Linked DNA regions of Homo sapiens: regions 2 and 3 are each linked to region 1. Evidence: promoter capture Hi-C in 16 types of primary human blood cells and fetal thymus (Javierre and others, 2016). All regions are on one chromosome and are shown on one strand. Each heading gives the region's core, a stretch centred on a gene start or on the middle of the fragment in contact. The rest is flanking DNA. Distances are from core to core; before and after follow the strand shown. Region 1 holds the start of NXNL1 (nucleoredoxin like 1). Region 2 has its middle 15 kb from the start of UNC13A. Region 3 overlaps UNC13A (unc-13 homolog A).

What was found. The method cuts DNA at HindIII sites, captures the fragments that hold promoters and counts their contacts. A CHiCAGO score of 5 or more calls a contact.
Region 2: a contact is called between a fragment that was not itself captured here and the fragment with the promoter of NXNL1 in region 1, in 1 of 17 cell types (M2 macrophages). The highest score is 5.2, in M2 macrophages.
Region 3: a fragment that was not itself captured here is called in contact with the fragment with the promoter of NXNL1 in region 1 in 1 of 17 cell types (M2 macrophages); the score reaches 7.3 in M2 macrophages.

What each region holds. Positions count from the first base shown.
Region 1 is chr19:17,459,097-17,462,387 of GRCh38, forward strand. It overlaps NXNL1 (nucleoredoxin like 1), which reads right to left and starts at 1,830. Exons shown (of 2, transcript NM_138454.2): 1 at 1,448-1,830. The coding sequence starts at 1,773. RefSeq lists an enhancer at 1,736-2,236. The HindIII fragment of the contact is 2,658 bases long and covers 1-2,638 here.
Region 2 is chr19:17,701,372-17,704,662 of GRCh38, forward strand. No RefSeq gene overlaps it. Among named protein-coding and RNA genes, the nearest start is that of UNC13A, 15 kb to the left of the region's middle. RefSeq lists a silencer at 1-215. The HindIII fragment of the contact is 7,500 bases long and covers 1-3,291 here.
Region 3 is chr19:17,630,685-17,633,975 of GRCh38, forward strand. It overlaps UNC13A (unc-13 homolog A), which reads right to left. Exons shown (of 44, transcript NM_001080421.3): 27 at 2,424-2,509; 28 at 2,098-2,224; 29 at 1-66. Among named protein-coding and RNA genes, the nearest start is that of UNC13A, 56 kb to the right of the region's middle. The HindIII fragment of the contact is 8,105 bases long and covers 1-3,291 here.

The DNA.
Region 1 (3,291 bases), core at 580-3,079:
TCCCTCTGTTCTAATGTCCACCATGGCTCCCTGCTACTCTGAGGATCATGTCTATACTTGTTAAGGTGGCTCTGCACCACAGACCTGTCACATCTAAAGAAGATTATGACAAATGCGTGGGCAGTAACAATAACATTGTAAATTTGATCCTCTCCGGAATTACCTACAGTCTCCCTGAACTGGTTGTTCTTTCTCTGACAGCCTCCAAGCCTTTCTGCTGTGCCCTCTGCCTGGAACCCCTTCCCTTTCCTCATTCTCCATCCTCCTATCTTTCTTCTCATTGGAGTCTCCCTGTAATTTATTTATTTATTACATTTTTTATTTTTTATTTTTATTTTTGAGACAGAGTCTCACTCTGTTGCCCAGGCTGGAGTGCAGTGGCACCATCTCGGATCACTGCAACTTTCGCCTCCTGGATTCAAGCAATTCTCCTGCCTCAGCCTCGCAAGTAGCTGGGACCACAGCTGTGCGCCACCAGGCCTGGCTAATTTTTGTATTTTTAGTAGAGACAGGGTTTTGCCATATTGGTCAGGCTAGTCTCGAACTCCTGACCTCAGGTGATCTGCTCACCTTGGCCTCCCAAAGTGCTAGATTTACAGGTGTGAGCCACCGTACCTGGCCTTACTTTTTTAAGAGACAGGGTCTACCTGTATTGCCCTGGCTGGAGTGCAGTGGTGCGATCATAGCTCACTGCAGCCTCAAACTCTAGGCTCCAGTTATCCTCTTACCATAGCCTCCCAGGTGGCTAGGACTACAGGCATGAGCCACCGTGCCCAGCTAGGGGTCTCTCTTTAAAGCCACTTTTTCGGGGAAGCATCCTCTGACCCCGGAACCTCACCAAGGTTTCCCTCATTGTATTTCCACTTTGTGGCCTAGCTTTGTCCTCTGAGCACTACTGCAATTCGCTATTATATATTTGTTTTTTGATTTTTTAGACAGAGTCTCCCTCTGTCACCCAGGCTGGAGGGCAGTGGCACGATCTTACCTCACTGCAGCATCTGCCTCCCAGTTTCAAACGATTCTCCTGCCTCAGCCTCCCAAGCAGCTGGGATTACAGGCGCCCACCACCACGCCTGGATAATTTTTGTATTTTTAGTAGAGACAGGGTTTCACTATGTTGACCAGGCTTGTCTCAAACTCCCGACCTCAGGTGATCTGCCCACCTCGGCCTGCCAAAGTCCTGGGATTACAGGGTTAAGCCACCATGCCCGGCCTTGCTATTACATAGTTGATTCTGTCTTTTGCATCTGTTCCTCTCACTCGGCTCTAAGCTCCCTGGGGTGGCATGGAAGCCAGCATGTGGAAGTGGGCACCCCTGTCTGTACCCCCTAGTTCCCAGTATATGGACTGGCACACAGGGGCTGCTCATTCACTCTAGTTAGAATGGATGCTTCACTTTCAGCGAACATGCCCCCTCCTCCAGGAAGCCCTCCCTGCCCCTCCTCACCTCCTCAGATCATCCTCAAAGGGCAGGAAAAGCCATTTCTTTGGCATGTCCTTGAGGAACAGGTCCTGCTGCTCCTCCGTGGAGTCCTGGGACACGTACACCAGGGCCAGCTGAGCCGCCCGCAGTACATAGAACTCATCTGTGAGCCGCACGAAGAAGTCCTTGAGGATGGGCACGAAGGCCTGGCACTGTGGACAAGCCCCAGCACCAAAGAACAGCAGCACCAGCCGGTTCTCCAGCCTGCGACTGACCTCAGCCTCCGTATCCAGCTCGTCCTGGTCGCTATTGTTGCGGATCAGGATGCGGCCAGAGAACAGGGAGGCCATGGTAACCTGGGTTGGGTGCTGGGGACAGCGCGGCGTGTGGTCCCCGGTCTGCTGACTGGCTCCTCTCCCAGAAATAGAAATCTTTAGAAAACCAGCTTAGGACTTCACTAATCTGCCTAAACCTTGACCTGAGGGGCCTCTAAGGGCGGGGGGCAGGGCTCTCTGTGTGGCCCTTCTCAGGAGAGAGCCGCAAACGCATTAAGAAAACACGTAACAGATGGGCACGGTGGCTCACGCCTGTGATCCCAGCACTTTGAGAGGCAGAGGTGGGAGGATCATCTGAGGTCAGGAGTTTGAGACCAGCCTGGCCAACATGGTGAAACCCTGTCTGTACTAAAAAATAAAAAAATTAGCCAGGCGTGGTGGTGGGCACCTGTAATCCCAGCTACTTGGGCAGCCGAGGCAGGAGAATCGCTTGAAGCCAGGAGGCGGAGGTTGCAGTGAGCTGAGATTGTGCCACTGCACTCCAGCCTGGGCGACAGAGCGAGACTCCATCTCAGAAAAAAAAAGAAAGAAAGAAAGAAAAAAAACCAAAAAACCATGTAGCAGACAGTGACTCACGCCTGTAATCTCAGCACTTTGGGAGGCTGAGGCAGGAGGATCACCTGAGACCAGGAGTTTGAGAGCAGCTTGGGCAACAGTGTGAGACCCCATCTCTATGAAAAAATTAAAAACTTAGCTGGGCATGGTGTTGTCATGAGCCTGTAGTCCCAGCTACTCAGCTGAGATGGAAGGATCACTTGAGCCTGGGAGGTTGAGGCTACAATGACTGCACTACTGCACTCCATCCTGGGTGACAGAGCAAGACCTAGTGTCTAAAAATAAAAAATAGGCTGGGCACGGTGGCTCACGCCTGTAATCCCAAAGCTTTGGGAGGTCAAGGTGGGTGGATCACCTGAAGTCAGGAGTTCGAGACCAGTCTGGCCAACATGGAGAAACCCCATCTCTACTAAAAATGCAAAAATTGGCCAGGTGTGGTGGCTCACGCCTGTAATCCCAGCACTTTGGGAGGCTGAGGCAGGTGGATCACAAGGTCAGGAGATCGAGACCATCCTGACTAACACAGTGAAACCCCGTCTCTACTAAAAGTACAAAAAAAATTAGCCGGGTGTGGTGGCGGGCACCTGTAGTCCCAGCTACTCGGGAGGCTGAGGCAGGAGAATGGCGTGAACCCGGGAGGTGGAGCTTGCAGTGAGCCGAGACCGCGCCACTGCACTCCAGCCTGGGTGACAGAGTGAGATTCCGTCTCAAAAAAAAAAAAAAAGCAAAAATTAGACCGGGTGTGGTGGCTCATGCCTGTAATCCCAGCGCTTTGGGAGGCTGAGGCAGGCGGATCACCTGAGGTCAGGAGTTCGAAACCAGCCTGGCCAACATGGTGAAACCCCATCTCTACTGAAAATACAAAAATTAGCGGCTCGTGATGGCACATGCCTGTAATCCCAGCTACTCGGGAGGCTAAGGCAGGAGAACTGCTTGAGCCTGGGAGGCAGAGGTTGCAGTGAGCTGAGATTGCACCAC
Region 2 (3,291 bases), core at 205-2,704, 240 kb after region 1:
AAAAAATAAAATAAAGAGGGCCGGGCGCGGTGGCTCACGCTTGTAATCCCAGCACTTTGGGAGGCCGAGGCAGGTGGATCACGAGGTCAGGAGATCGAGACCATCCTGGCTAACACAGTGAAACCCCGTCTCTACTAAAAATACAAACAATTAGCCAGGCATGGTGGCGGGCGCCTGTAGTCCCAGCTACTCACGAGGCTGAGGTGGGAAAATGGCATGAGCCTGGGAGGTGGAGCTTGCAGTGAGCCGAGATGGCGCCACTGCACTCCAGCCTGGGCAACAGAGCAAGACTCCATCTCAAAAAAAATAAAATAAAATAAAATAAAGAGCGTATCCAGGAATCAGGACCCAGGCTACTGTGTGATAGTGGAGGCACCAACAGGATGGAGAAGGGGCAGATCTCAGGGCGAGTAACTATTCTAAGAGCCAGGTTTTGGCCTTGTGAGTGTGAAATGCCTGCAAGGCACTCAGTGGAAATATCCAATGCCATTGGATACTGAGGCCTGGAGCTCTGGGGAGATGCAGGCTGGAGACACCAATGGGATAGTCGACAACACGCAATGAGGTGTGGCTATTTGGGGCAAGGGCATAGATACAAGGTCAAGGGACACCCTGCTCTTCCAGGACTATCAAAGCCAAGACATCACACCCAGGGGTCCACCCTTTACAACTCTGTCCATGCCCAACGCCAGTCCCTGTTATCAGGTCAGCAGGAATGCTACCTGCAGGGAACATGGAATTCAGTGTCCTTGGGCTTACCATAGGTGCTCCTCTTCTTCTCTCAAGTGCCTATTTATTTATTTATTTATTTATTTATTTATTTATTATTTGAGATGGAGTATCACTCTGTCACTAGGCTGGAGTGCAGTGGCGCAATCTTGGCTCACTGCAACCTCTGCCTCCTGGGTTCAAGCAATTCCCCTGCCTCAGCCTCCCGAGTAGCTGGGACTACCATGCCCAGCTAATTTTTTTTTTTTTTTTTTTGTATTTTAGTAGAGATGGGGTTTCACCGTGTTGGCTAGGATGGTCTCAATCTCCTGACCTCGTGATCCACCCGCCTCGGCCTCCCAAAGTGCTGGGATTACAGTCAAGTGCTCATTTATAGATGGGGAGACTGAGTTCCTGAGAGTTTGGGGCAGCAGGCAGCGGGGCGGGGGAGGGGGACAAGGCTGGGACGTGAAGTGGGTCTGGAGTAACTCTCAGAATAGGCCGTTTCTGCAATGCAGACGTCTGTGTAATCGTTCATTCATTCAATGAACGTAGTTTGGATCCACACCCTTGCCCATCTCGCGCTGATCTGAAAGGGGACGTTTCTGTTAGGTGTGGTGGCTCACGCCTGTAATCCCAGCACTTTGGGAGGCCAAGGTGGACGGATCACCTGAGGTCAGGAGCTGCAGACCAGTCTGGTCAACATGGTGAAACCCCGTCTCTACTAAAAATACAAAAAAAAATTAGCTAGGCGTGGTGGCGCCTGCCTGTAGTCAGTCCCAGCTACTTGGGAGGCTGAAGCAGGAGAATCACTTGAACCTCAAAGGCAGAGGCTGCAGTGAGCCGAGATCACGCCACTGCACTTCAGCCTGGGTGCAACAGAGTGAGACCCCATCTCAAAATAATAATAATGATGATGATAATAATCATAATGATGAAAGGGGCATTTCAACGTTCACCATTGAGCACTCGGATCCAATTAATTTTTAAGCTCTGGTGCCCCATTTTCTTCCAGCCAACAGCTCAGCTAATTCCAAAGCTATTGATTTGAGCCTTCTCATCCCTCCACTTAATTATGCCGGTGCTGTCTGTATCTTCTCTTGCCCTTTTTTCTCTGCGGCTCCTTCTTTGCCAAGGTCAAGGGTCCAGCGAGCAAGGAGGATCTCGCTCAGCACAGGGAATTGGAGGAAGGACATTCCTGGCCGAGGGCAGGGTGTGTGCAAAGGCTCTGAGATTGGACCTCTTATTGAACTTAATTGTAGCTGTCAGGCTGCCTGGGGCAGAGAAATCGATGAGGGCAAACTTGGCTTATCGCCTATAAAATGAGGATAAAAAATAATGGTTTCTGCCAGGTGCGGTGGCTCAAGTCTGTAATCCCAGCACTTTGGGAGGCCAAGGCGGGCAGATCACCTGAGGTCAGGAGTTCAAAACCAGCCTGGCCAACATGGTGAAACCCTATCTCTACTAAAAGTTTAAAAATCAGCTGGGCGTGGTGGCGGGCGCCTGTAATCCCAGCTACTCGGGAGGCTGAGGCAGGGGAATCGCTTGAACCCAGGAGCCAGAGGCTGCAGTGAGCCGAGATCGCGCCACTGTACTCCAGCCTGGGCAACAGAGTGAGGCTCTGTCTCAAAAACAACAACAATAACAACGACAACAGATAATAATAATAATAATTAATAATAATGGTTTCCCAGAGAATTAAATGGGACAAAGGCAACATCAATCTTTTGAAAGTTCCAGGCCCTGCCCTGCAGGGATGTAGGGTGGAAATAACACTAGGCTGCAAAATGACTGGATGGGCCTGGAGTGGTTGGATGGGATTGGATGGATCATAAACAAAAGTGATTGGATTGGTCAAGAGGAGGAGACGGAGGCAGGAAATAAAGGCAGACAAAGGAACGTAATAGGTTCAGACCCAATGGAGGCGAGGTTCCGGACTCAGAGAGGGGGCCTCAGCCCAAAGTTCCCAGAGTGGCCAGCTGGGGGCAGCATAAGCCATTAGGCCATCCCAGGGCTGGGAGCAGAGGGGAACCAGGGACCCTCTGTGACCCTCTGACGGAGGTTAACTTATTTGACATGTGCCTGCAGTGTGCCAGACATGGAACAGAACTCTACAAGCACTCATTTAATCCCCATAATAGAGTTTGCAGATGGGGAAACTGAGAACAACAACGTTAAGTTGCTCACCCAACGTCACACATCAGGGGAGTGGCAGAGCTTGGATTTGAATTTAGGAAGCCCAGCTGAGGCCCTTAACCTCTGCACTCTACTGGCTCTCCTTCCCCTAAATCTCCTAAAATGACAGTTTAAAACTTTTTTTAAGGTGGCGCCGGGTGGGGGGTGGGGGGCGGGTGTGGGTAGGGCACGGGCATGGTGGCTCATGCCTGTAATCCCAGCACTTTGGAAGGCCAAGGCGGGCAGATCACTTGAGGTCAGGAGTTCGAGCCCAACATGGCCAACATGGTGAAACCCCGTCTCTACTAAAACTACAAAAATTAGCCGGGTGTGGTGGCGCCTGTAGTCCCAGCTACTCGGGAATCTGAGGCAGGAGAATCACTTGAACCTGGGAGACGGAGGTTGCAG
Region 3 (3,291 bases), core at 367-2,866, 170 kb after region 1:
TGCAGGAAATCCCGGGACACCTCCTCATTCTCATCCAGCCACTGGATGACGAAGGGTTCAAACCATCTGGAATGAAGAGCCGGGGTGGGGCTCTGCCACCTCTTGTCCTCCTCAACCTCTGCGCCGCCTGGTTCTGACCCACTAACGAGTGGAGCTATGGCTGCTCCTGCTCTGCCTGGAGCTCTCCCTGCAGCCTTGAGTGGCTGCTCCTCTGCTCGCCTCCTGCACTGAACCTCAGTTACTTTGCTCATGAAATAGATTGAGTGGCCCCTTTTACAACAGGGCCCAGGCCTGTGGGAATCCTAGTTCAGATAAGCTGCCCATGGCAAGTGGGTTTATTCTCTGAGTCCTCTCTGAGTCCTCCGTCCATCCTTCCCTCCCTCCCTCCCTCCTTCCTTCCTTCCTTCCTTCCTTCCTTCTTCAGATAAACTGCCCATGGCAAGTGGGTTTATTCTCTGAGCTCTTGTTTTCTCCCTCCCTCCCTCCCTCCCTCCTTTCCTTCCTTCCCTCCCTCCCTCCCTTCCTTCCTTCCTTCCTTCTTCCTTCCTTCCTTCCTTCCTGGGTCTTGTTCTGTTGCCCAGGCTAAAGTGCAGTGGTGCGATCACAGCTCACTGCAGCCTTGACCTGCTGGGTTCAAGCAATCCTCCCACCTCAGCTTCCCGAATAGCTGGCACTACAGGCACATGCCACCATGCCCGGCTAATTTTTTTTTTTGTCTTCTTTGTAGAGACAGGATTTCCCTGTGTTGCCCAGGCAGGCCTTGAACTCCTGGCCTCAAGTGATCCTCCCACCTTGGCCTCCCAAAATGTTGGGATTACAGGAATGAGCCACCGCATCCAGCCAGAGCTTTCGTTTCTTGTACAACAGAAGACTAGCCATCCTCCTGTGCTGCTGGGAGCAGAGAACGACACCACAATTCTCAGGAACCGGCGGCACCGTACTATCCTCCAACACACAGCCCAGGAATCAGATGTCCCGAGTTCAAATCTCGGGTCTGTCATGTACTGGGAGTCACCGTGGGCAAGGAATGTGGCATTTATTCACTCATTCATTTTATTTTTATATTTATTTATTTTTTGAAATGGAGTCTCACTCTGTCGCCCAGGCTGGAGTGCAGTGACACGATTTCCGCTTACTGCAACCTCTGCCTCCTGAGTTCAAGCGATCCTCCTGCTTCGGCCTCCCGAGTAGCTGGGACTACAGGTGTGTGCCATCACACCCGGATAATTTTTTTCTTTGTTTTTGAGACGGAGTCTCACTTTGTTGCCCCAGCTGGAATCCAGTGGTGCAATCTCGGCTCACTGCAACCTCCGCCTCCTGGGTTCAAGCAATTCTCATGCCTCAGCCTCCCAAGTAGCTGGGATTACAGGCATCTGCCACCACACCTGGCTAATTTTTGTATTTTTAGTAGAGACAGGGTCTCACCATGTTGGCCAGGCCGGTCTCAAACTCCTGACCTCTGGTGATCCACCCACCTTGGCCTCCCAAAGTGCTGAGATTACAGGCATGAGCCACTGCGCCCGGCCAATTTTTGTATTTTTGTAGAGCTGGGGTTTCGCCCTATTGGCTATGCTGGTCTCGAACTCCTGACCTCAGGTGATCTGCCCACTTCGGCCTCCCAAAGTCCTGGGATTACAGGCACAAGCCACTGTGCCTGACCCATTCATTAATTTTAGAGATGGGATCTGACTATCTTTTCCAGGCTGGTCTCGAACTCCTGGGCTCAAGCAAGTCCTGCCTCAGTCTCCCAGATTGCCGGGGCTACAGGCATGTGCCACCATGCCTGGCCATTTGGCATCTTTAACTCTCCAATTTCTCCTCCGCAAAATAGGAATTAAAATGATCCCACCTTAACTCATAGAATTGTCAAAAGGATAAAATGAGAAAGTCACATGGTTCCTGTTGCTGTTGACTGAATTTTCTGGGCTGTAGGAGTCAACTGCTCAATGGCTGAGAGTGGAGAACACTGGATTCAAGCCCCACCCATGCCCCTGATGCCCAGGTAACCCTAAGTAGGTCAGTCTTCCTCTCTGGCTTTCCTTCTAGCTGTCAGTGCTACAGTTCTGGCTTGGGTTGGGCCTGGGGCAGGGGACTTACGCAGGGTACTCAGGCACGCGGTCCTTGAAGGCGGGAAGTTCCGTCACATACTCATTGTAGAGCCATTTCACCTTGAAGTGGAGGTTCATGTAGTCGGCACTCTTGCATAGACGATGCTTGTCGTGCTCTGGCCAGGGACAAAGAGGATGGCACAGCTGGAAGGGTCTGCCACCCTCTGTCTCGGCAGAGAGGCTGCCTACTCTGGCCATCACTGATTTCCAACTCAGGCATGAGGGTATTATAGGGTGCTCACAGCCTTGGAGGGGACACAGAGGTACAGCCACCTGGTGTGGCCAGGCTGGGGAACACTGGGGTGGGAAACTCACCCTCCATGGCGTACTTCATGTCTTGGGCAAACAGATTCCACATCACTTCAGCGCTGATTTTACCCACATTCAGCTCCTGGGGAAACCTGGCAAAGTCATGGAAGTATAAAACTTTGGCAGGCAGAAGGCAGATGGGATGGGCTGCTTTGTCCTTCCCTGCCCCACAGAGGAGTGTAGGGTAGGGTAGAGGGATTTGGGTTCAGGTTCCCTCATAGCCACTGCTGACTGACTCTGCACTAAGGCTTTGTTTCCCTTTGAGCCTCCACCCACTCATCCATTTGTCCCTCCATTCATTCATTCATCCACTCATGCAACTATCCACCCATACATTCAACAACTCATTTATCTATTCCTCCATCCATTCATCCATCCTTCCATCCATTCATTCACCCACTCATGCAACTGTCCACCCATCCATGTACCCATCTATCTATTCATCCATCCACCCATTATCCACCCATCCAACCATCCCTTCATCAATTCATTCACCCACTCATGCAACTATCTATCCCTCCACCTACCCATCTATCTATTCATCCATCCACCCATCCATCCATCCCTCTATCCATTCATTCACCTACTTATGCAACTATCCACCCATTCATTCACCTATCCATCTATCTATTTATCCATCCATCCCTCCATCCACTCATTCACTCATTCATCCAACTATTCATCCATCCACTCAACCACCCATCTATCTGTTCATCCATCTATCCCTCTACCCATTCATCCAACTATCCATCCATCCACCTACCCATCTATCTATTCATCTATCCACCCATCCATCCATCCATCCCTCTTTCCATTCATTCACCTAATTATGCAACTATCCACCCATCCGTTCACCTATCCATCTATCTATTCA